Linked DNA regions of Homo sapiens: regions 2, 3, 4, 5 and 6 are each linked to region 1. The links are contacts of gene promoters, found by promoter capture Hi-C in blood cells and fetal thymus (Javierre and others, 2016). All regions are on one chromosome and are shown on one strand. The core of a region is centred on a gene start or on the middle of the fragment in contact, and the rest is flanking DNA. Distances in the headings are between cores, read along the strand shown.

Region 1 (3,968 bases), core at 1,024-3,523:
ATCTGCACTCTCATCTTCATTGCAGCATGTGTGTATACATGTAAATGTATACATGTATACACACACATACACAATATTTAAGGCTGAATAAAATGCCATAAGTGTGTCTATATGTATATGTGTACCTATGTATGAATATATGTATATATTATGTGCTTGCATATATACACACACAAAAAATGGCATTTTATTCAGCCTTAAAAAAGGATATTTGTAACACATGGATGAACCTGGAAAATATTATGCTAAGAGAAATAAGCCAGACAGAGTAATACCACATGATCTCACTTATATGTAGTATCTAAAAAGTCAAATTAGGCCGGGTTTAGTGGCTCACGCCTGTAATCCCAGCACTTTGGGAGGCTGAGGTAGGTGGATCATGAGGTCAAGAGATCGAGACCATTCTGGCCAACATGGAGAAACCCTGTCTCTACTAAAAATAAAAAAATTAGCCGGGCGTGGTGGCGGGCACCTGTAGTCCCAGCTACTCGGGAGGCTGAGGCAGGAGAATCGCTTGAACCTGGGAGGCGGAGGTTGCAGTGAGCCAAGATAGCGCCACTGCACTCCAGCCTGGAGACAGAGTGAGACTCCATCTCCAACACAAACAAAAAAAAAGTCAAATTCATAGAAACAGAGAGTAGGATGGTGGCTACCAGGGGTGGCGGAAATGAAGAGACGTTGGACAAAGGTAAAATTTAAATTATGTAGAATGAATAAGTTCCAGAGATCTAATGTACACCATGGTGACGATCATTAATAATACTGTACTGTATACTTGAAATCTTCTGAGAGTAAATCTTAAGTGTTTTCACCACACACACAAAAATTCTAACTGGCCAGGTGTGGTGGCTCACCCCTGGAATCCCAGCAATTTGGGAGGCCAAGGTGGGAAAATTACTTGAGTCCAGGAGTTCAAGACCAGCCTGTGCAACATAGTGAGAACTCCTTTCTCTAAAACAAAACAAAACAGAAAGTATGTGAAGAGATGAATATGATAATTATCTTGACTAATAATCAACATCAAGTTGTATATCTTAAATATATAAAATTTTTAAAATAGTAAAGAAAATATAATCATCATTCTCAGTAATCTATTTCCTCTAGTTTTCTTCATAATTTACCACTTTCTGAAATTACATTACACATTTGTTCATTTCTTCCTCCATTAGAACATATGCCCTACGAGAACAAAAATTTGGTCTGTTTTAGTAACCACTGTATTCTTACAACACCTAAGATATAGCCTGGCATATAGTAAACAGCCTAAAAAATATTTGTTGAGTGAATGAATAAAACAAACTTGGAAGAGATTTGAGAGATAATAACAAATATTGACCAAAGAAGAGGGAAAGCTAATATCTGAACTGATGAAAAAGATCTTTCCTAATTGTAGTGGTTTTTGTTTTAAACCTAAGAGAGCATACATTGCTCCCTAGGGTTCCTACCATACGTTTTGATTTCCTAAACACTATCTAAGTCAAATTAGATTTACCTTCAAACAATTACACATGGTGCAGCCGTGCAGCAGAAAAAGCAGTAGATGGGGAGTTAGGAGACATATGTTCTAGATCCAGCTTTGCAATTAACTTGCTTTGTGACTTTGGGAAAATCACTTCCCTCCTGTGGGCCTGTTTCCTCATATGTTGGAGTACCTCGAGGATGAGAATGGATTTTGTTTTTCCTGCTGTATCCTAGGCGCTTAGAGTAATGCTGGCCCTAAGAAATCTGTTGAATGACTGAATGAATGAACAAACAAAAGGAGGAGGCAGTACTTCATTACTGAACCTTGCTTGTGAAGAAACACAGCCGGCAAATGAGTTTAGTTTACCAAGCGCTTTCATGTGTTTGCAGACAACACACTCGGTGTCTCGCACACGAGGTTAATCCTGCTTGCTTAATAAATAAATGAATGAGTGAAGTGAAAAGGAAAGGGGGTGGTATTTCCGTTATAAAATGAGAAAACTAAGGCCGAGAGTGGAAGAGACTGGGTCCCACCACTCAATGAGTGCTTCTCAACTCGGGACCCTAACCGGACCTCCTTGTCCTTGCTCTGATCAGGCGCGGGACCACGATGGCGTAACACTCTATTTTGAATTCGTCCCTAATCCTCCTTAACTTTCCTTGAACATGACCCACCGTCCACCATAAAGCTTTACCTGAATCGAGACCAAAATTCTCTACATGGTGTCCCTGAGACTGTCCACATGAAGACTCTTCTGGTAATGCCCGACACAGATCGCGCCGCCATCTTCGATGAGATCCACGGGCCTGAGCGCAGCCTTCAGCCAGCAGTGACGCGCCCAGACCAGCCAATCGGATACAATCCCAGTGGCAAGAGCTTTCTTTTTCCTGTAGGCTCCCTCGCCCTTTGCACGCTGGGAAATGTAGTCCAGTAGCTGTTGCTGGCGGCGTCTGGACCGCGGCGCTCTTTCCGAGCATGACGGGAGTTGTAGTTGAGGGGGCCTCGGGAAGAATCTGGGTGACGCCTTCTGGTCCGGGGGCGGGCGGTCATAGCGTTACTTGGCTGCAAGGAGGAGGAACTGGCAGCGGGGAGGAGGCTCTAGCGAGGCCTGAAAGGCTGCGTAACCAGGCAGGAGTAGGGGTTGGGGTTCGGGGTTGGGGGACAGCCAGGGATCGCGTCTGATATGCTGTTGGGGTCGTGACCGTCTGGGGGCCGAGGCAGGCACTGGCCAGACCCAGCCAGGGATCCTCGTATTCGTCGAGCCTAATTTCCAGCAGCCGGGTAGGCCTCACCAGAGGCTCCTTTCCGTGAGGCCGCCCCCAATTCCTGCCCCTATTCTCTGCCTGGGAGATGGCTTCCCCGAGCCCCCCGCCGGAGTCGAAGGTAAGTAAGCACCCCCCCGGGGATCCCGGTTGTCTCGCCGCTACCCCAGCTAGGCCGCACCACTGCTTTCTCCCCCAGGCCCCCCACCAACCTCCTGACCGCCTCTTTAGGGCCAGCGCCTTGCAAGGAACTCCCCACTAGTGCATTGGGGTGCGGTTCGCGAACAAACTGCCCACTGGCTCCCTTTTTTTTTTTCTTTTTCTAGAGAGACTTGATAAATCGGCCTGAGAAAATAAGTAATGCTCCAGACTAGCTCTCTCATTTGTGAGTTCTCCAGGTGAAGCACCATTTTTGACCTTCCCTTGTGTCTTCTGTTCCTGGCACAGTGCCTGGACCCCAAGGTACACGCTTAGAGAACCTCAAGGAATTGAATTGAATAGAGTCACAAGCCAGTGCAAATGGAAAATTGAAGTAGGCAATGAGGTGAGGGAAGCTTGGAGAGGCCTTGGGGCAGTTTACTAAAATTAAACTCTCAGGGCATAATAAATCAGAAAAGCCTTATCCGTAGGTCCTTTCTAGTCTGAGATGTCTGTCAGTTACAGTTCGTTCCCAGAATTGGGCAACATATGGAACTTTCAGTTATCATGTTCCTCCTAGCCTACTTGGCCACAATAAGTGATTGCCTCTGTCACTTTTAGTGGTAGAATTGTCCTTGAGACAACAGGAACTGACTACAGAAATCATACTATTTCAGGGGTTGCTGACATTTGAGGATGTGGCTGTGTTTTTTACCCAGGAGGAGTGGGATTATCTGGACCCAGCTCAGAGAAGCCTGTATAAAGATGTCATGATGGAGAATTATGGAAACCTGGTCTCACTGGGTAAGAATCTGCTGTTTCTCTAATTAAAATATCTAAGAAGGTAGAGAGAAATCAGACTAACAGAACATTTGGACGGAAACCAGTACCAAAACTGCTTTGTTCCAAAGTTCTGATTCAAACCTTTTAGCCATTAATTGTTTCCATAACTCTCATCCCTAGCTTCCTTGAGGTGACCAAACTGCAAGCCTTTCGGGCATCCTGTCTTCATAATCTCATTCCCATATTGTTCTGTACTTTCCGTCCTGGCTCATCCTCCCACAGCTTTCCTCCCACCCCTTTTCACTCTGCGTTCTGGAACCCCT
Region 2 (3,968 bases), core at 1,000-3,499, 2.7 Mb after region 1:
TAACTTTTTCTACTTTATTATCTAAGATTAATTTTTGTCAACTTTTGTATTTCAGGGATCCAGAGAAGAACTGGAATAGAAATTGTGTGAAAGGACTTGTGGCTTCTCTGATTAGTGTGAAAGACACTTCTGCAACCACAGCTTTAGAATTAGTGGCTGGAGAACGACTCTACAATGTTGTAGTAGACACAGAAGTAAGTTGATTTTAATTTTAAAAAATTTAAAATTTGGTTAGCTTGAAAAGTCATGTGCTGCTAAAAGAATTAAATACTTTGATGTTTTAAGGCTCTCCCCTAAGGTGACTTATTTATAGGGTAAAACTATTTGGTTCATAACTTTTTGATAACTATTCCAAAGGAGGTCTCATGCTTACTCAGAAACTCAGAATGCATATTACCAATCTTAAACTTTTGGGATCTCTTTGCTGTATAAGTTGAATTTAATTTGTAAAATAATCTGGGAATAAATGACCTGTTTTTGATGTCAGTCTTCCCATCAAGGTAACATTGAATTTATTTACATTTCTTCAGTTCTCACTTATTATCCTTCTGTAGAATGCTCATATTCTTTCCTGTAAATGCTACGTAGTCATTGTCAAATTTACTTCCTTGTTTTTTTTTTAATTTATTTTATATATATATTTAAAATGTACAAGAAGCCTGGGTATGGTGGCTCACACCTGTAATCCCAGCACTTTGGGAGGCTGAGGTGGGCAGATCATTTGAGCCCAGGAGCTCGAGACCAGCCTCAGCAACGTGGCAAAACCCCATCTCTACTGAAAATACAAAAGTTACCCAGGCGTAGTGGCGTGCGCCTGGAGTCCTAGCGACTCTGGAGGCTGAGGCACAAGAATTGCTTGAACTTGGGAAGTGGAGGTTGCGGTAAGCTGCGGTAAGCTGAGATTGCACCACTGCGCTCCTGCCTGGGCAACAGAGGAAGACTGTATCTCAAAAAAAAAAAGAAAAAAACAAACGTACAAGATGTTTTGATACATATACATAGTGAAATGATTATTGTAGTCAGACATATTAACATAGCCATTCACCTTCCATAGTTACCTTTTTTGTGTGTGACAGCACCTAAAATTTACTCTTAGCAAATTTTCAGTATATAGTATTAATTATAGTCCTCATGCTATACATTACATCTCTGAATAGGTAGATTTATTTATCCTACCCAACTGCAAATATGTACCCTTTGACCTATGACCTACTTCTACCCATTTTCTTTCACTCCTCATCCCTGATAACCACTATCCTACTCTTTTTATTTGTTCAGCTTTTTTTTTTAAAAGATTCCATGTACAAGTGAGGTCATACAGTTTTTTATTTTTTCTTCGTCTGATTATGTCACTTAGCATCATGTCCTCTGGGTTTATTCATGTTGTCCCAAATGGCAGCATCTCCTTTTTCAAGTTCAAATGATGTTCCATTGCATATGTAATTATAACTTGATTGGGATAAATGGCACTAAACATTCATTTATTATAGACTACTAAACTTGCATTCTCTCAATTTTCTGTCATTTTTAACATGCGTTTTTTAAATTCAAATGTGTGTTGTAGGTTACTGGTAAAAAGCTACTAGAAAGGGGGGAACTGAAACGTCGATACACTATAATTCCACTCAATAAAATTTCAGCCAGATGTATTGCACCAGAAACTCTGAGAGTTGCTCAGAATCTTGTAAGTCTCATTTTGTCTTATTTATATGTTTAATCGTCATCTGTGGTTTTTTTAAGTTAGAAGACATTAATTTTGAGGGACATAATCATATGCAGAACCACAAAATTAAAATACAAAAAAATTGGGTTGGCTTGTGCAATTAGATGATAAGAGAATAGAGATGTTGGAAGACTTGAACTCCTTTTGATGCTTCACTTTGTGGTATTAGAATGTCCTTTTTAACCTTAAGTCACATGACTATCAATCAGGTGATGGTGAAAATTACACTCTTGATTCCTGAATGGTTAGAACTGAGCTTCTAGATACGTACCCCAAATTCTTCAAGTTTTTGTTTTTGTTTCTTTTTATGTCAGGCATACTAAAACTGCCCACAGTCACAGCCATTATGGAAGGCCTTCATTAGTATTGCAGTGATGCTTCTTTATTAGAGTTCTTCTAGATTGCTATTCAGCCTGTGCAGGTACATAGCAGGTGACCAGGATCCCATTCAACTGCTGACGTTGATCTAAAGTGACATGCTTGCTAGTAAGAAAATAGATTAGTACAAGGAAATACATTTAAAAGTTATTGTAGTTGTGTAATACTGTAAAAACATGAAGTCAGTCATAACATTCAGCTGTAATATCAGTTTTTTTATTGATCAGACATTCCAAGTACATCAGTTGAAAAGACATTTCTATGAAACTTAAAAATATACTTGTAACTAAGTGGATGTTGTTGTATCCTTAGTTACATTCAGAAGATTTCAATGCAAATGATTTCAAAATACAGTTGTGTTGATATGTATACTATCAGGAGAGGGAGGATGAGTGCTGAGTAATTGAAAGGTGATGTTTTTGGTTGGTACTTTCTTTACTTGAAAACTCACCATTAAGTCAAGAAGGCTCAGGAAGTTAATTCAGCCATACATCGAGTCCCAGCATTAGAAGGAAATTGGGATTTCAAGTAACAGCAAAAATACTTTGCCTCAAATCCTTTAGCCAAACCTATTTGATGGTAGCTGCCACATCAAAGAACAATACTGAACATGTGTTACATAGAGCTTCCTTCATTGTGACTGCCACTGCTGATACTAAGCTCTAAAAGAGATGCTTAGTTTTTCTTAAATGATGGGCAGAGGTAGCCTCTATAAACAAAGGCTGAGAAGAAGCATTGTGATCAAAATAGAGGACTGGGGATTTTTTAAATTACTTTTACTCTCAGTTATTGTGTTTTCATTTCTGTAACTGGCAGACGACTGCTCTAGCATGTTTCATTTGTATGAGAAAATATTTGTTGTGAAATCAAATTCCTGATTATTGAAACAACATTTTCATATAGTTGTGTTGATCTGGAAATTATAGGTTAAGCACTCCAAGTCCAACAACTGAAATTTTCCAAAATTCAAAACTATGACACCCAAAAAATGCTCATTGGAGTATTTTGGATTTAGAAAGTTCAACCACTGTAATACAAATATACCAAAATCTGAAAACAAACACTTCTGTTCTAAGCATTTAGGATAAAGGATACTCAATCTGTACTATAATTAAAGTTGTGTCCAGTCAACGTTGGTGAAGGACACTTAGAAACATGGTAATGGCTCCTTATTGATAGAAACTTTCATAATGCTCCATACTAGCTATTAATAAATATTTTACTTAGCAATAAATCTTTCAGTATTTAAACCTGCAGTTTTTTTTTCCTGAAACTTTGAGTTTTACATAGCTTTTTAGAAAATTCAGAAAGAGTTTTAATGCTAGGTAAGTATTATTTAAGTTTCTATTACAGCAGTTTTTACTGGTTTATAAAATCATATCTGAAAGGAAAAGTAGTAGTATGTACTGTGGCATATCTGTTGTTGTCCCACAGGTTGGCCCTGACAACGTTCATGTGGCTCTTTCCTTGGTTGAATATAAACCAGAACTTCAGAAAGCAATGGAGTTTGTCTTTGGAACAACATTTGTTTGTGACAATATGGATAATGCCAAAAAAGTGGCCTTTGATAAGAGGATAATGACTAGAACTGTAACTCTCGGAGGTGATGTGTTTGATCCTCATGGGACATTGAGTGGAGGTAAGTTTTATATCCTTTTCTCCTCACAATTCTTTGTGGTAAATAGGAAGATGCCTTTTTTAAGTACATTTTTAGCCCAACTACCCACTTCTTCAGGAAACATGTTAACTTCTCATTTGTGTGTTTGCCAGTGCCACCTACCTCCTGTCAAAAGTAAAACAAAAAATTAAACCTGCCCTTGAAATGGTACCTTAATGCCTTAAAGGAATTCTTAGACAGTGATCATAT
Region 3 (3,968 bases), core at 532-3,031, 2.6 Mb before region 1:
AACACATCAGTGGCTCCCAAACCTACCATACAAGAGAATCACTGGGGAGCCTCTTCTCACACAGAGTCCCTGTCTCTTACTCCCCTCACTGCCCTGGGCCTTCTAAATCACAATCTCCAGAAAAGGAACTCAGGAATCTGCACTTAGACAAGCATCCTGGTGATTCTGATGTGTGGCCAGGTTTGGGTACTGAGGAAGCCAGTCAGCATTAACATGGTGTGATGGATGCTACCACAGAGGCCTTTCTGCTGCGGAGGGACCAGAGAACAGGGAGATATCATGGCAGGCTTCACAGAAGCCAGATCTCTAGATGCCATCCTTGCTGTCTCTCTTAACCCCTCCCCAAGGGCCAGTCGTCAACTCCTGCTGATCTACTCCCTGAATATATCACAAATTCATCTGGGTGCCCTCCCTCCGCTGTCTCCATTCTGGTCTAGGCCACCATCACCTCTCACTCAGACTGCAGCAAACTCTACCTAACCAGCCTTTTTGACTCTAGCTTACCCTAGAGTATCTAATCTATTCTCACACTTCAAGGAAAGTAATTTTTCCAAAACGTAACTCTCATCCTGTCACTCATTCTGCCTAGAACCTTCCATGACTCCCTAGCACCTTCCATGACTCCCTAGCACCCTAGGATAGCTAGCGTTTCTCAGCTCCCACACTCCCCCAACTCCCTGGCATCTGCCTTCTCTCCAGGGAGGACTAGTACATCATTCTACTCATACATTCTACGCATACCTCATTCTACCAGTCCTACCAGCTCGTGCACCCAAGCCTTTGCATGGGCCTCCCATCATGCCTTCCCACAGCCCACTTGTAATGTCCTGGCTAATTCTCAGGTATCCGCAGGTCTCCACGTGGATATAAACATCTTTTCTACCAGAAACCTTCCCCCACGTCTCCAAAATGGGTCACCTGCCCCACAGCTACTCAAACCTTTCCGGTCAAGCTCGTTCCTTTGCCTGGCCTGCCCACCAATGCCCTGGGTGGGGACTCTGCCTGGGTCTCGCAGCACCCTCAACGCCAAGCCAGGAAGGGAAGGCAGGTTCTGAGGAAACTCTTACTGCAATAAGAAATGAATTAAATCTCTAAGGTTCTAAGTCTCTACAATTCTATTCGCTGTCTCCAGATTCTATTCTGAAAGGCCAAAATTTCTAAGAATCTGATTTTATGTTAATTCAAAAGTGTTTCCACGTCTATGCTCAAAGTTTACAAAAGACTACTCAAAGTTTACCATTCCAACTCTAAGGAGTCCTTAACTCTTCACCTCCCGGGGCATCCGGCCGCCGGGGACCGCGTCTCGGGCCAGCGCCGGGCACCACTCTGGTCCCGGGCCCCCGGGCCCCGCCGCCTCACCTGGCCGCCTGCATGAGCGCGCTCCAGCCGTAGTGGTTGCGGCTGTTGACCGAGGCACCGCGGCGCAGCAGGAAGCGCACCAGCGGTTCGTGGCCCCCGGCCGCGGCGAACTGCAGTGCGGTGTTGCCCGCCTCGTCCGAGCAATCCACGGGCACCGGAGCCCCGACTGCCCCCGCCGCTGCGGCCCCGGGCCCGGCCACCTCGGCCCCCGCCGGCTCCGCGCCCGCCTCCGGCTCCGCGCCGCGCTCGGCTGGCTCCGCCGCCCCCGGCTCCAGCAGCCGCCGCGCCGTCTCCGTGTCGCCCTGGTCACACGCGCGCAGCAGCAGCTGGAAGGCCGGGGGCAGCCCGCCCTCGCCCATCGCCGCCGCCACGCGCGGCCCGCTCCCGTCCGCCCCGCCGGCCGCGTCGGCTCCGCCCCCGGATACCGCCCGCAGGCGCCCCCTTCCGGCCACCCGCCCGCGCCGCGCGCCTACTGTGTGCCGGGAGCGCGCCGGGGCTAGGGCCGCGCGCCTGCTGTGTGCCGGGAGCGCGCTAGGGCCGGGGCTGCGCACCTCCAGTGCCCGTATTCGGGAGTCCAGGGACGCTCAGAGGAGCGCCCGCCGCAGACCCGCGTGTTCCCTTTTGCCTCTTCGGCGCCCTCTCGCCGCCCTGTCCCGGGGCTCCAGAAACTTCCTGTCAGGGCAGAGGTGGGAGCGGCCACGCCATCCCCTCTTCACGCTGTGGTCAGGGCCCTGGGCCCGGGTCTGAGTCCGCAGCTGCGTGGGCCTTGACTTTACTAGCGGGCTCCGCTGACCCCACCGCAGCCCCTGGCACTGAACCTGCCCTTCTAGAATAAGGAAGCGGCTGAATTAAGGAACGAACGGATTGTTTCCTCACAGTGTCCTGCGGTGCCCTTAATGTCGCTCCTTCATCTGGGCCAGGCTGCTGGGGCTAAAAGCGCCTCCTGTTCTCTCTCTCTCCCCCACCTTTTATTTCAACTATTATTATAGATTAAAGGGTACAGGTTTGTTACATGGGTAAATTGTTACATGGGTAAATTGCGCGACGCTGAAGCTTGTGGTCCCAACGATCCCGTCACCCAGGCAGTAAGCATAATACCCACCAAGAGGTTCTTCAGCCCAGAGTCCCCTCCATCCCTCCCTGGCCTAGCGATCCCCAGCGTTTGTTGTTCCCATCTTTGTGTCCATGTGTACTCAATGTTTAGCTCCCACTTATAAGTGAGAACATGCAGTATTTGGTTTTCTGTTCTTTTTAGGTCGCTTAGGATAATGGCCTCCAGCTTTATCCATGTTGCTGCAAAGGGCATGATTTCGTTCATTCTTATGGCTGCATAGTATTCCGTAGTATTCCATCATATTCTATCGTGTATATGCACCACATTTCTTTCATTCCTTCCCTCTCTTCCCTCCCTCCCTCCCTATCCCCCTTCCTTCCTCCCTCCCTCCCTCCCTTTCTCCCTCTCTCTCTCTCTCTCTCTCTCTCTTTTGACAGGGTCTTGCTCTGTCATCCAGGCTGGAGTGCAATGGTGCAATCTCTACTCACCACAACCTCTGCCTCCCAGGCTCAAGCAATCCTCCCACCTCAGCCTACCGAGTAGCTAGGACTGCAGGCAAGTGCCACCACACCCGGCTAATTTTTTGTATTTTTGGTTGAGAAAGGGTTTTACCATGTTGTCCGGCTGGTCTCAAAGTCCTGAGCTCAAGTGATTCACCTGCTGTGGCCTCCCAAAGTGCCAGGATTACAGGTGTGAGCCATCACATCTGGCTCTGTACCACATGTTCTTTATCCAATCTACTGTTGATGGGCACTTAGGTTGATTCCATACCCTTGCTATTGTAAATGGCACTGCAATGAATATACAGGTGTCTTTTTGATAGAATGAATTATTTTCCTTTGGGTATATACCTGGTAGTAGGTTTGCTGGGTCAAATAGTTCTATTTTAAGTTCTTTGAGAAATCTCCAAACTGCTTTCCACGGTGGCTGAACTAGTTTGCATTCCCACCAACAGTGTATTTTCTCCACAGCCTTAGCAGCACCTATTGTTTTTTGACTTTTTAATAATTGACATTCTGACTGGTGTAGATGATATCTCATTGTGGTTTTGATTTGCATTTCTCTGATGATTAATGATGTTGCGCATTTGTTTCATATGTTTGTTGGCTGCCTGTATGTCTTCTTTTGAGAAGTGTCTGTTCATGCCCTTTGCAGAGACACAACGAAAAAAAGAAAACTTCAGGCCAATATTCCTGAAAAACATAGCTGCAAAAATCCTCAATGACATACTACAAACAGAATCCAGCAGCACATCAAAAAGTCAATTCACCATGATCAAGTAGGCTTTATTTCTGGAATGCAAGGTTGGCTCAACATGCGCAAATCAATACATGTGATTCACCATATAAACAGAATCAAAAACAAAAACCATATAATCATCTCAATAGATGCAGAAAAGGCCTTCAATAAAATCCAACATCCCTTTATAATAAAAATCTTCAAAACAGATTAGGCATTGAAGGAACATACCTCAAAATAATAACAGCCATCTATGACAAACCCATAGCCAACATCATATTAAACAGGCAAAAGCTGGAAGAAGACTCTCACCACT
Region 4 (3,968 bases), core at 601-3,100, 2.3 Mb before region 1:
AGAATTGATGGATTAAAAGATACTTTTTAAAGGCTCTGACTCTTCTAAAATGTGTTGTTAAACTCCTCAGATCTGCTAACCAGATCTTTATGCTGTACTTGTGTGATTTATTTCGAATCTAAGTGAAAGCCTTTGTATTAGTTACCCTGTTAAATCCCATCTTGCCATTTGGGCAGCCTATTCTTAGTGTGTTTTCTCTGATATCAGTTAACATTATATTGGCTAATTCCATAGAAACTAGGAGACTGGAAAATGAAGATAATGTGGAAAAACAAGAGCTTGTGAATTTGGGAGTGCCCTGTTCTTTTAAGATGTGATGTGGGTTAAATGATAAACAATGCATCTTAAATTCTTTAAAAGTGGCAGAAGTAAATGGAATTTATCTGGAAAAAAATCAGGCGTTTATTCTGATGCCCTAAATTCAGGGGTGAAATATTATCTGGACTAGAGGAAAATTTTATGTACATTATATGGTGTTCTCTATTTTGACAAGCTTACTTTGATATTACTGCTGCAAGGTAGCCCCAGGAGGGTTGAATTGAGAAGAACTGAGTATTTTGAGGAACAAAACCTAGGATAGTAGGCTGGAGGGAATTGGAGGTCAGGGTTTTAGCCATGTATACAGAGATAAGCAACATATTTAATAAAAAGAAAAGGAGAATCTATATAGTATGCTTTACTCCAAAGCTGGATGAGGGAGAAAAGAGGACACGTCTCCTTGAGAAGGGGGCATGTGTTGAGAATGGAGAAAAGGGGTAAGGCAGATTACTCAGAAGAACTGGGGTAGAAGAATAGGTTGGATGATAAAAGGGGCTGACATTAGTCCCTGAAAGTTTTTTTTAAATAACTTCCAACTTTTGCCTTCACCTTTGCCAGCAGTGATGTGATCTGCTTTCAGCTGTAGTGAAGCAAACTGCATAAAGGACATTGTGCATGTTAGGTCTTTTACTTGCCTGTTGGTACATGTTTGTAATATTTGGAAATACTCTCACTGCGAAGAAAAGTATAGTTGTGCTGTAGTGGGTAGGGTGAGGAAAATAAGGGTCATCACCAGCAAAGTCAGAGTGATGAAAAAACTGGATTACAACACTCTGCTTGACTTTGCATAGATAAGTAAGCCAAGCAGAGTGTTTCCTGGATGTAGTTAAAATACAAGCTTGGAGCACAGGTAAAAGGCCAAGAGGCTTGGAGATGTACATCTGAGATGTACCAAAGGGCCAAGTGCAAAGTAAGTTTGGGAAGTTTAGTGTCATATAAAAACTAATAAAGAAAGGGTGGTACTCTGTCTCATATCCTGAAACGTTTTGAAAAGAATATTGAATTTGACCAGAAGGGCATTGCTAGTGAATTTCAAAGAGAGATTTCAGTTGAGCTCTGAACTGGAGGAAGATGGGTGATAGAAGGCTGGAGAGGGCCAGTAACAAGGGTTGAAAAAGGAAAGAGTATTCAAGCGTATGCATAAAAAGACTACGGGTAGGTTGTGTAGATGATGACACACTAAGCCTGGGAAGACAAGGTTTCGGTGCTAATTTTTATTTCTTTAACAAGGGTGATAGAAATATCTGTTCCATATATTAATACTATACACAACTGTTTACCTCTCAGCTTTTCTAGCAAGACATATGGGCTTGTGAATTAACCCTGGGTAGCCCTGGCATTAGATAGAATTAATAGTGCTTCCATATGTGACCTCGAGACGTACTGAAATGAGGCAACCAAGGAAATCCTTTATATTGGGACCAAGAGCCAAGATCTCAACTTGGGATATGTTACCCCGAGAGTTGTTACCCCGATACTATAATACCATGAATAATAACCCCAAGGGTCCTGTTGTCTCTTTTTCCTCATGTCACTTCCTTTGGTACTAACTGTCACCATGCTAACATCTGCAAACTTTGAAAATTCTGATTTATTCTGCAATATTTGGAAATTTCACTGCTAGTAATTGTATTTCCTGGCATGGTTCTGATATAATTTTCTGTGTACACAGTAGCTTTTCCTTTTAGTGCTGAATCACACTGAAATCCTTGTTTAACCTAAGTTATAGTTGCAAGGGAGCTATCAAGACAAATAATTACAGTGATGGTGAAGTGAATACAAGTCAAACATCCCAATCTGAAATTCAAAACCTTTTGAGCACACCAACATGATGCCACAAGTGGAAAATTCTGCACATAAGTACTTAACATGACCTTTGTTTCATGCTCAAAATTATTTCAAATATTATATTAAATTACCTTCAGACTATATATATAAAGCATATATGAAACATGAATGAATTTTATACTTAGACTTGGGTCCCATTCCCAAGATGTCTCATTATGTATATGCAAATATTCCAAAATCTGAAAAAAATCCCAAATCCAAAACACTTCTGGTCCTGAGCATTTTGCATGAGGGATACTCAACTTGTAATCTTTTCTATGTATAGCCAAGTTTGCACATACATAGGTTACAACAACCCATCATGTCTTAACCTTTCAGTCTGGAGGCTGGAGTTTTCTTTTTACTTTGATTGTAAATTGTATTCAGATTTTAGAAATGTAAAGCTTAGAGAAATGTGCATCTCAAGATTAAGAAAGCTATGCCCACTGTTAAAGACTGGGGCATGGAAACAAAGTTGGACAGTGTAGTAGAAAGGTCCTAAACAGGGGATTTGGTTCTTATTTTTGCTATCAAGCAGAAGAGTCAAAACTGTAGGAGTCTAAACCAAATCAGGTCCACCTGGGAGTCTTTAAAGTTCAGGGTTACTTAGCATGGGGATAGTGGTATAGCAAATAGTTGCGTAGGTTTCACTCGTGGGCTGGTGATAATATAGTGAGGATTCACATCCGCCTGTAATCTGGGTAGAATATTTGTATAAATCATTTTGGTTTTTTGGTTTTCTTTTTAAAATTTTTAAAATTGTTTTGCTTTTCTTAAGTTTTGGTTTCTACATTAATAAAATGACAGAACTGAATTGCCTAGATGATATTCAAAGTTTCATGTGGTTCTGTTAGTCTGGGATTCTACAGTGGAATTTTGTCACTACTTTTGGGAAGAAGTTTACCTTTGGTGGCCTACGAATAAAAACCACATTGGCACAATGCCATTTATCATATGGGATAATTCTGTGTGTTTATATAATCATTTATGTTCGTTTCCAAATGTGTTAATAAAGTACAGTATCTCATTTGATTAGCTCAGATGATGAAATAGGTCAGAGAGGTATTATGTTTATTTTCCTGATGAAATAAAACATCGTAGTTAGCATCTTGAACAATTTAAATTTGATCATCTTACTTGGTATGCCAGCCACTAAGGATGAAATCCTGCCACTGAGAAAGAAAACCCAGTCAGGAAAGCTTTCTCACCCTTATCTATCTAACAAATTGTACATATTCTCCAAGTTCTGACTTGAATGCTGGTGAAGCTTTTCTTGATAATCTCTTCTACCGCAGCAGAGTAGAAACACTTTGATCATTCTTCTCAGGACTCAGGATTTTAATTATCTGTTTAATGCCTTTCCCTTCCACCCTAGTGAACTACTCAAGTGCAAATACCTTGTCTTACTCATCTCTGCACCTCATAGCCCACACTGTACCTGGCATATAGAGATGCTTAGTGAATAATTGCAGAATTAAATGAAAGAGTCAAGGTGATGTGTTGCAGAGTGAGGAGAACTTGGGCTTTGGGCTGGCGGAAGGAGGTGTCTTCGTTTACGTTTTTTAGATTGAAATTTTGCCATGTATATGCGTTTAAAAATTTAAAACCTAGTTGAATAAAAGGTTGGGGGGGGCAGTATCCAGGGGCCAAATCTATCTATTAATAAAATAAATTTGAATTTTTTAAAAAAATGGCAATTAAAACTCATGTTCATGGAAAAAATTAAGTTCTTATTTTAGTTTTTCCCTAAACGATCTTGCCGTATCACATAACAGCAGTCTTGTAGTCAATCAAGACTGACTTCAAGTGGTGAAATGGAATTT
Region 5 (3,968 bases), core at 540-3,039, 2.2 Mb before region 1:
AGTTTTGTTCTTGTTGCCCAGGCTAGAGTGCAATGGTGCGATCTCAGCTCACCGCAACCTCCGCCTCCCAGGTTCAAGCGATTCTCCTGCCTCAGCCTCCCAAGTAGCTGGGATTACAGGCATGCACCACCACATCCCACTATTTTTTTTGTATTTTTAGTAGAGACGGGGTTTCTCCATTTTGGTCAGGCTGGTCATGAAGCATTTGCTGAAGAGGCAACTGTAGTACAACTAAAAGAACTGTTAACCTCAAGTTGGACATACCTGGGTTTGAATTGTAGCTCCACTGCTTCCTAGCTGTAAGCCTCAGACTTTCAATCTCTAAAAATGCCTATAATTACCTGAAAGGATGCTGTGAAGAGCAAACGAGACAATCTCTAATGAGCTCTGCAAAAGCTCTAAAGGCTGTCCAAATACGTGTTCAGTAGACATTTGTCATTGGATCAAAGAACTGCACTACTACTCCCCCTTAGCTGAGTGGGTCTCTTTATGGACATGATACTCCCTCTTCTATTGGCCCATCGTGTTTTTATGTGTGTATGTATGAAGGACAAATGATATTTACGCATATCAAAGAGGAGGAGACTGAGAAATTCTGGTATGCGCAAAGTCCCGGATGGCTCAGGTAACTAAGGGCCAAATGCTGGCTCAGTTACTTTTCAATTGTGTGCCTTCAGGCAAGTCTTTCACCTCTCTGAGCTTGTGTGTAAGATGGGGGATAATCATACTCACCTCGGAAGACTGATGGGAAGAGGCAAATGGACAGTAAACAGCAAAGTCTTTCTAAACCCAAAGACCTGTACAACTACAACTGCAGTGCTGCAGAGGGAGTTGTACTGAAAAAACATTACACAAAGAATTTGGTTAGGGTGAGGGCAGACTGAAGAATAGTAAAGTGGTTGGACTTTGGAATCAGAGGGCCTTGAGATTCTGTCCATTCTTCAAGGCCATGGGACGCAGGCAACTTGCTTAACTACATTCATCTAAAAGGGAAGAATACCTACATCTCAGTGAATTGTTGAGGATTAAGCATCTGCTATGTATGTATCTCCTTTCCTGCCCTGCACAAAGTAATTACCAGAATTACTATGGATAAGGCCCCAACAATTCACCTTCAATGTTTCATGCTTCTACTTTCCCTAACTTCAGCTTAGTTTTGGAAGGTGTGAACACTTCTTAAGGGCAAAGTTCCATTCTAGGGTCCAGGAACCAGGAACTAATGGTCAGAAGCTGGAAGCTCATGGCAGGCAGGACTCCATCCCTCCCAGACCTGTGAAATCTTATTGTCACTCACTCCGGCTTAGGACAATGAAGTGAAGCTAAAATCAGGGTCCATGAACCCATGTAGTCCATTTGAAAGGATTTGCATAAAAATGGTCAAATATGCAAATGTTTAGTGCTGCTTAGTAAGGTAAGCACCATGTTGTAGGTCACAGTGTGGCCAAGTCTATCTGTGCTAAACTCCATGGTAAGAGCCACCAGGCTTCCTGGAAAGGCTGCATTTCTCAGAAACACATGAACCAAATCATACCTTCTGTACTACATGGTAAGCTTTCACAATGCCAAAGAAAATGGAATGCAACAGAACTTTTAATCCCATAAAAGACTCAATATATTTGGCACCCTCATTTTATAGTACTCCTTTTTGGTACAGAATCATTTTGCCAAAATACTCCTGTGATACAGATGCACATGATAAACTGTAAAATGGAATTTCACCCATTGAAGAGCCCCAAAAGAACAATATGGTAGTGCAGCATGAACTAACATGCAATTTCTAATTTTCAATATCCCCAAATTGCAAAATACTAATAGCTAATATATATACTATATGCCAAGTATTAAGTACTTTGTAATATTATCATAATCTGTTATAACCGCACTATGAGGAAAGTAGAATAGTACAATTATCTCACTTTGCAGATGAAGAAGCTGAGGTATAGAGATCAATTTACACAAAATCATATAGGCTGTTAGGCTCTCAAGTCTAGCTCTTAAGAGTTGATAAATGTGGAGCCTTTGGCTAGTAAGCTTTGCTACTTCTGGAAATGAATTTAGCCTTAGAAGTATGTTGAAAACTACTGTTTATGATTTGCTGTTAGACCAACAGGTAAACAGTGAACTATAAGTCAGTGTCACGAAAATATCAGTGTCATGAAAAGGCTAGAGTACATGGAGGGGGAAGATAACTTCTGGCTTGGGAGGTGGCCAGAGGGTCAAAGAAAGCTTTGCAGCAGTGGCATTTGAGCCAGGCCTTGGAAGATAAAAAACATTTGTGTCCTATACTTAGTAGGAGCTTGGTCAAGACAACACAAATATTAACAAAACTAATGACCTAGATGACATTAAGAAATATACCCTAAACAAGATGCACAACACATGTGTGACAATATTCTTGCTTCATTTCAATATCCACTTTACCCTAGTGTTCTGATTTCCAGTTTGGTTGTCATATCCATGTTCGTAACAATACCAAAATAGATTATGGAGACCAAAATCTAATACTGTTTCTTTTTTATGATAAACACCTTTTATTATATCTCAGTGTGCAAAAATACAAATTATCTTAAAAAAAATACAGAGCACTCTCGCTATGGATCCAGGCAAAGACAGGACAAACAAAAATTCCCTAACAGATGACAGTGAACACTTCGGTGGATTGAATCTGGGAACTACAATAGCCCTGCTCTCATTATACTATGAAGCCAAATTAATCAACTTTGATAATGATACACACTTAAACTATGAAAACCAATTAAGGCACAGTATCATTCAAAATTTATAGACAGAAGAGCAATAATCCCGAGAAAATATAATTAAAATACTCTGCTGAACATGGAATGACACCACATTTGTAACTTAACACTGGCAAAATTTGGAATGATTATAGCATAAAAGACATGGTTTTTCTGAAAAGTGGACAGGGAGGTGTGGTATATAGGAAAGTGGCTCACATTCAAGACTCAAGTTTATTTTTTAAAAGATCTCTTCTGCATTAGATTCTAGGTTTCTTTTTTGGTTTCAAAACTGGGTCTACAATCCATAAAAATGACATTAATGGAGATCTTAAAAACAATCTGATTATACCAGCAGTTTGGTAACATATCGGTAGAGCTGTTCTGTAAATGCTTCAGGGGAAAATTTTTCCTTCACTCTGGCTCTTCCAGCCAGGCCCATGGTGGCTTTTAAGGAAGGTTCACGGATGAACTTTTCTATTGCTTCTGAGAAGTGCACCGGGTCAGGCTCACACAGAAACCCTGTGACACTGTGGTCAATGGACTCCAAGGGTCCACCCGAATTAACAGCAATGACTGGGCACTGCATGTACATGGCTTCCAGAGGGACAATGCCAAAGTGCTCATTGCTTGGTGTGTAAAGCACACACGTGCAGCTGTGGAGGAGGGAGATTTTCTGTTTGTCTGAGAAAGACCTCAAGAAGGTCACATACTGGCCAAGGTCGGACTGTTGGACCATTTTCTTCAATTCCTGATAATGTTCCACATTCTCCAGGACTCTCTCGTCATAACCACCTGCCACGATCAGATGAACCCTCTCCCAATCTTGGGATGTCAATCTTCCACGCAGCTGTACTAGGGCTTCCAGTGCCAAAGTCAGATTTTTCTTCCTTTCGTATCTGTTGATGGAGAGCAGCAGGAATTTTTTCCCCTTGGGGACTAGGTCATCCAGCTTTTCAGGAACAACTGAGTCAAAGCTGGTGACATTTAGAGATGGATAGAGGACATCAGGGTCTATGTGAGACAGGGACTTGAATGTTTCCTTAAAAACAGCAGCTGTGAACTGGCTGTTGACTAAGATGCAGTCTGCCATGCCTGTGGTGTATTCCTCTATCCAGTCAATTGGGGCCCTGTATAGTCGTTTAAGAAAAGAATCTCTCTTGGTGAGAAGCAGATCTGGGAAGTGACAGTAAAATAGGATCTTCTTCCGCCGTCTAGCCAGCCTGAACACTG
Region 6 (3,968 bases), core at 568-3,067, 2.2 Mb before region 1:
GAGAAAGCATAGTGTTTAGGCATCAGCAGACATTTACTGGGCACTGTGTGCCATGCCCTTTTATTGGGGTTTTAGAAATGACCTGGCAAGGTCATTAGCTTAAATGGACTGGGCATTTGTATACTAGGATCCTATTCCTATCTGGGGCTACAAATTAGAAATGGCTATGTGATTATGGAAAAACCAGTAGGAAGCCCTCTCAAACCCCCTTGCCATTGGTGAAATCAAATAGTCAGGACCACAGTTTAAGAACTAGTATGCTCATGGTGTATGGGCTGTGGTGCCAGGGATTGCAAAACTGGCACTGTCCCCAGGAAATCCATACTGTGTGATCGCTTGTCCAACAGAGGAAAAGCAGAGAATCCTGAGATGCCCTAGCTGGAAGGGCTGCGAGTTCACTGGGTTTTCTCCATTGTATGACAGAGGAGACAGGCCCAGAGAGGGGAAGGGACTTGCCTGAGATTGTGCAGCAGGTTTGCAGCAGAACAGAGGCCAGAACCAGTCTTTTCTGTTTCCAGATCAGGGCTTCTTCCCAGTACTGCACTATGAACCCAATTTTGAGCCTGTGCATAAGCCTGTTGACGTCTCTAGAGGGTAGGCTCTGGAAGTAGGTAAACTAAGTGGTAGGCTTTGAATAGTGGGCATTGTTAATCAAAGGGGAAGGAGTGAAGACAGCAAGACTAGCTAGTAAAAATAAAATCAATTATGTTAGCAACTTTAGGAGAAAGTCAAGTTCATGAGACTTTATAGAGACAAAATAGGGAGAAGCAGCTAGCAGAACTGCAGTGTTTTGCATTTTTGTGACCACAAATGTTAGGTGAGCCTGGAACACAGTGAAATTGACCAAGTAGGGTTAAGGTTTGAGAAGGGCTAAACTGTTGAAATGCTATTCCTGGTCACTCTGACAACTGGGTCTCTTTCCCATGCTGAAGGCATTAAAATAAGATAAAACATGCAAATGCACCAAATTGGAATCAAAGGTATAGTCATACAAAGTCTGGATTGCTCCATTTTAAGGAAAGGTCTAGAAGTTTATGCCTCAGAAAGCAAATGAAGACATGAGGGGAAGAATTTGAATTACATATATAAAGATTAAATTAGTCCTGCAAACATGCATACTCATTTTTCTTCCCATTGACTCTGGTCACACGCATCGTAGATAATGAATCACGTAGTTGCGTGCTCTATTGTCTTTCCTGTTCTACTCAATAATACAGTTGCCAGTAAGAAAACATGCTCATTCTTCTAGGGATCTATCTAAATTGGTCTGGGTTGTAGAATATAGAGCAACTTGCTGCTTAGATGAGTGGTTCCCAAACTTTAACATGCATCAGGGGCACCTGGAAGGAATCTGCAGCTGCTACATAGCAGATTTTGAGATCACTCAACTGGGAGTCTCCACTCCCTAAAGCAGGAGCCCAAAGCAGAAATCACAATGTGGGGCCAGGGTCACTGGGCATATACTTTATTCTAGGCCCATCACCCAAACAGGTGTGTTAAATTTGTCCCCCTTTCTCTTCTTTGAAGTTGTAACCAGGGTACTATTTGTTTTGCGTTGTCTGCACTGTGTCTGGGGAAGTACGCCTTTTCGTGTGTGTGCTAGCACCTGCTGGGATGCACAGTCACAGCTGTAGAGCTGGAAGGCCCTGAGAAACCACAGAGCCCTTCATTCTGTTCTTTTTTGCATAGCAGTGCCTCTTTTTATAGAGGATGTATTAGGCTGTTCTCGCACTGCTATAAAGAAATACCTGAGACTGTGTGATATGGTTTGGGTCTGTGTCCCTGCCCAAATCTCATGTCAAATTGTAACCCCCAGTGTTGGAAGTGGGGCCTGGTGGGAGGTGATTAGATCCTGGGGGCAGATTTCCCCTTTGGTGTTCTTGTGGTAGTAAATTATTGTGAGATCTGGTTGTTTAAAAGTGTATGGCACCTCCCTGCCTCTCTCTTCCTTCTGCTCGGGCCATGTAAGAAGTACCTGCTTCCCCTTTGCCTTCTGCCATGATTCTAAGTTTCCTGAGGCCTCTCCGGCCATGCTTCCTGTACAGCCGTGGAACTGTGAGTGAATTAAACTGTTTTTTTGTTTGTTTGTTTTTTTTTTTTTTTTTTTACAAATTAGCCAGTCTCAGGTATTTCTTTATAGCATTGTGAGAAACCACCCCCATACTCTAATCACCTCTCACCAGGTTCCACCTCCAACATTGGGGATTGCATTTCAGTATGAGATTTGGGCAGGGATACTATATAGATATCCAAGCTATATCAGAAGACATGCTGCCTGAGCTCAAGCAATCCTCCTGCCTCAGCCTCCTGAGTAGGTGGGGCTACAGGCATGAACACCATGCCTGGCTAACTTTTTTTTGTTTTTTGTAGAGGTAGGATCTCAAATTCCTGGCCTCAAGTGATCCCCCTGCCTTGGCCTCCCAAAGTTCTGGGATTAGAGGTGTGAACCACCATGCCTGGCTTAAAGCAATTTTCTGATGACTGATTATGCTTTCCAGATATCTTACTCTTGAGAAAGGTGGTACCCCACATTTGAAACACAAGCATTTTGGCTCACTAGAAGGATATATCCTCCATTGTAAATAAAAAGTCGGCCTCTTTATGCATGAGGCAAGCGTTGTTTCTGTTTAGATTGGTCTGGATCTAGTCATCTTTAGTTGTTCATCTCCAGGTGAACTGAGAAAAATCCAGTGTTCTGATTTGAGAAGCCAAGAAGACCTTGGCTGATGGTAAATTTTTAGCAGGGAATCTGGTAGTGACCAGTTTGCTTAGCAGAGCTGATGGCATTCACATCACCATGTATAGAACTTGGACCAGTGAAGGCACAGCCAGCTGGGATTTGCTGTTACACATAGCAGCTTAGGGAGCCAGATTCTAGTGATCACTTATGTGTATTCTTTCATTCCTGAAATGAACTCCACTTGGTCATTGTGCTGAAAAGAGTTATCATAGCCAGCCAGACCCTGCTATTTCTAGAATGTTCTGTTTGCAAGGTTGGACCTTGGCTGGTGTCTGAAAACTTGGCATTTGAATCATTCCCTAACTGATAAGGCTGATTGGGCTGATTGACAATGTGGTTTATCCAGTACACCAGCTTTCCTTCTGAGGAAGGTAATTCCTCTGAGAGTCTGGAATTTTGGTAGTTGCCAGGCAGAAGAGGCCCATGTGGCCAGCCACCAACAAAAAAACCTTGGGTGCTGAGTCTCTAACAGGCTTCCTGGCAGAAACATTATTGCATTGATTGTTGCTAGAGAAAGGAACTTGCTTGCAGTGTTCCTTACAGAAGGGAGAGAATATAGGAAGACTGTGCATGGATTTCTCCATTCCACCCATGTCTTTTTCCTCTGGTGATTCTGTTGTGTCCTGATATGGTTTGGCTGTGTCCCCACCCAAATTTTATCTTGAATTGTAACTCCCACAATTCCTGTGTGTCATGGGAGGAACCCAGTGGGAGGTGATTGAATTATGGGGGCAGGTCTTTCCTGCACTGTTCTCATGATAGTGAATGAGTCTCATGAAATCTGATGGTTTTAAAAACAGGAGTTTCCCTGAACAAGCTCTCTTTGCCTGCTGCCATCCATGTAAGACGTGACTTATTCCTCCTTGCCTTCCGCCATGATTGTGAGGCCTCCCCAGCCATTCAGAACTGTAAGTTCATTAAACTTCTTTTTCTTCCCAGTCTCAGGTGTGTCGTTATCAGCAGCATGAAAACAGACTAATACATGTCATTTCCCTGTAATGATCCTTAACTGTGAGGACGATTATATATTGAAACCTGAGTCATTCTAGAAAATCATTGAATATGTGGTGGTCGTGGGGACCTCCAAAAAAGTCGTGATGTATTATTTTTAATGTGCTACTGGATTGTGTTTGCTAATATTTTATTTTCTTTATCAATATTCTTAACTTCAATTCCCCTTTATCAAACTTTTACTGAAAGCTTTTCCAACATTCACATTGTTCTAGAT

The links. The method cuts DNA at HindIII sites, captures the fragments that hold promoters and counts their contacts. A CHiCAGO score of 5 or more calls a contact.
Region 2: a fragment that was not itself captured here is called in contact with the fragment with the promoter of MRPL50 in region 1 in 1 of 17 cell types (naive CD8 T cells); the score reaches 6.2 in naive CD8 T cells.
Region 3: the fragment with the promoter of ANKS6 here is called in contact with the fragment with the promoter of MRPL50 in region 1 in 1 of 17 cell types (fetal thymus); the score reaches 6.2 in fetal thymus.
Region 4: a contact is called between a fragment that was not itself captured here and the fragment with the promoter of MRPL50 in region 1, in 1 of 17 cell types (total B cells). The highest score is 5.7, in total B cells.
Region 5: a fragment that was not itself captured here is called in contact with the fragment with the promoter of MRPL50 in region 1 in 1 of 17 cell types (total CD8 T cells); the score reaches 10.2 in total CD8 T cells.
Region 6: a fragment that was not itself captured here is called in contact with the fragment with the promoter of MRPL50 in region 1 in 1 of 17 cell types (fetal thymus); the score reaches 9.1 in fetal thymus.

What each region holds. Positions count from the first base shown.
Region 1 is chr9:101,396,345-101,400,312 of GRCh38, forward strand. It overlaps MRPL50 (mitochondrial ribosomal protein L50), which reads right to left and starts at 2,274. Exons shown (of 2, transcript NM_019051.3): 1 at 2,157-2,274. The coding sequence starts at 2,248. ZNF189 (zinc finger protein 189) reads left to right here and starts at 2,507. Exons shown (of 3, transcript NM_003452.4): 1 at 2,507-2,845; 2 at 3,540-3,666. The coding sequence starts at 2,813. RefSeq lists enhancers at 1,387-1,916, 1,917-2,445, 1,978-2,507. The HindIII fragment of the contact is 1,128 bases long and covers 2,149-3,276 here.
Region 2 is chr9:104,114,636-104,118,603 of GRCh38, forward strand. SMC2 (structural maintenance of chromosomes 2) reads left to right here. Exons shown (of 25, transcript NM_006444.3): 13 at 56-194; 14 at 1,565-1,684; 15 at 3,536-3,740. Among named protein-coding and RNA genes, the nearest start is that of SMC2, 22 kb to the left of the region's middle. The HindIII fragment of the contact is 8,542 bases long and covers 1-3,968 here.
Region 3 is chr9:98,794,774-98,798,741 of GRCh38, forward strand. It overlaps ANKS6 (ankyrin repeat and sterile alpha motif domain containing 6), which reads right to left and starts at 1,782. Exons shown (of 15, transcript NM_173551.5): 1 at 1,360-1,782. The coding sequence starts at 1,718. It overlaps LOC124902229 (a long non-coding RNA gene), which reads right to left. Exons shown (of 2, transcript XR_007061689.1): 2 at 3,675-3,968. RefSeq lists enhancers at 1,045-1,545, 1,546-2,046 and a silencer at 1,305-1,924. The HindIII fragment of the contact is 11,591 bases long and covers 1-2,410 here.
Region 4 is chr9:99,120,755-99,124,722 of GRCh38, forward strand. The region is part of intron 1 of TGFBR1 (transforming growth factor beta receptor 1); the gene reads left to right. Among named protein-coding and RNA genes, the nearest start is that of TGFBR1, 18 kb to the left of the region's middle. The HindIII fragment of the contact is 1,393 bases long and covers 1,155-2,547 here.
Region 5 is chr9:99,214,853-99,218,820 of GRCh38, forward strand. ALG2 (ALG2 alpha-1,3/1,6-mannosyltransferase) reads right to left here. Exons shown (of 2, transcript NM_033087.4): 2 at 1,573-3,968. The coding sequence ends at 3,082. Among named protein-coding and RNA genes, the nearest start is that of ALG2, 5.1 kb to the right of the region's middle. The HindIII fragment of the contact is 480 bases long and covers 1,550-2,029 here.
Region 6 is chr9:99,234,462-99,238,429 of GRCh38, forward strand. It overlaps LOC124902230 (a long non-coding RNA gene), which reads left to right and starts at 3,505. Exons shown (of 2, transcript XR_007061690.1): 1 at 3,505-3,648. The HindIII fragment of the contact is 4,242 bases long and covers 1-3,938 here.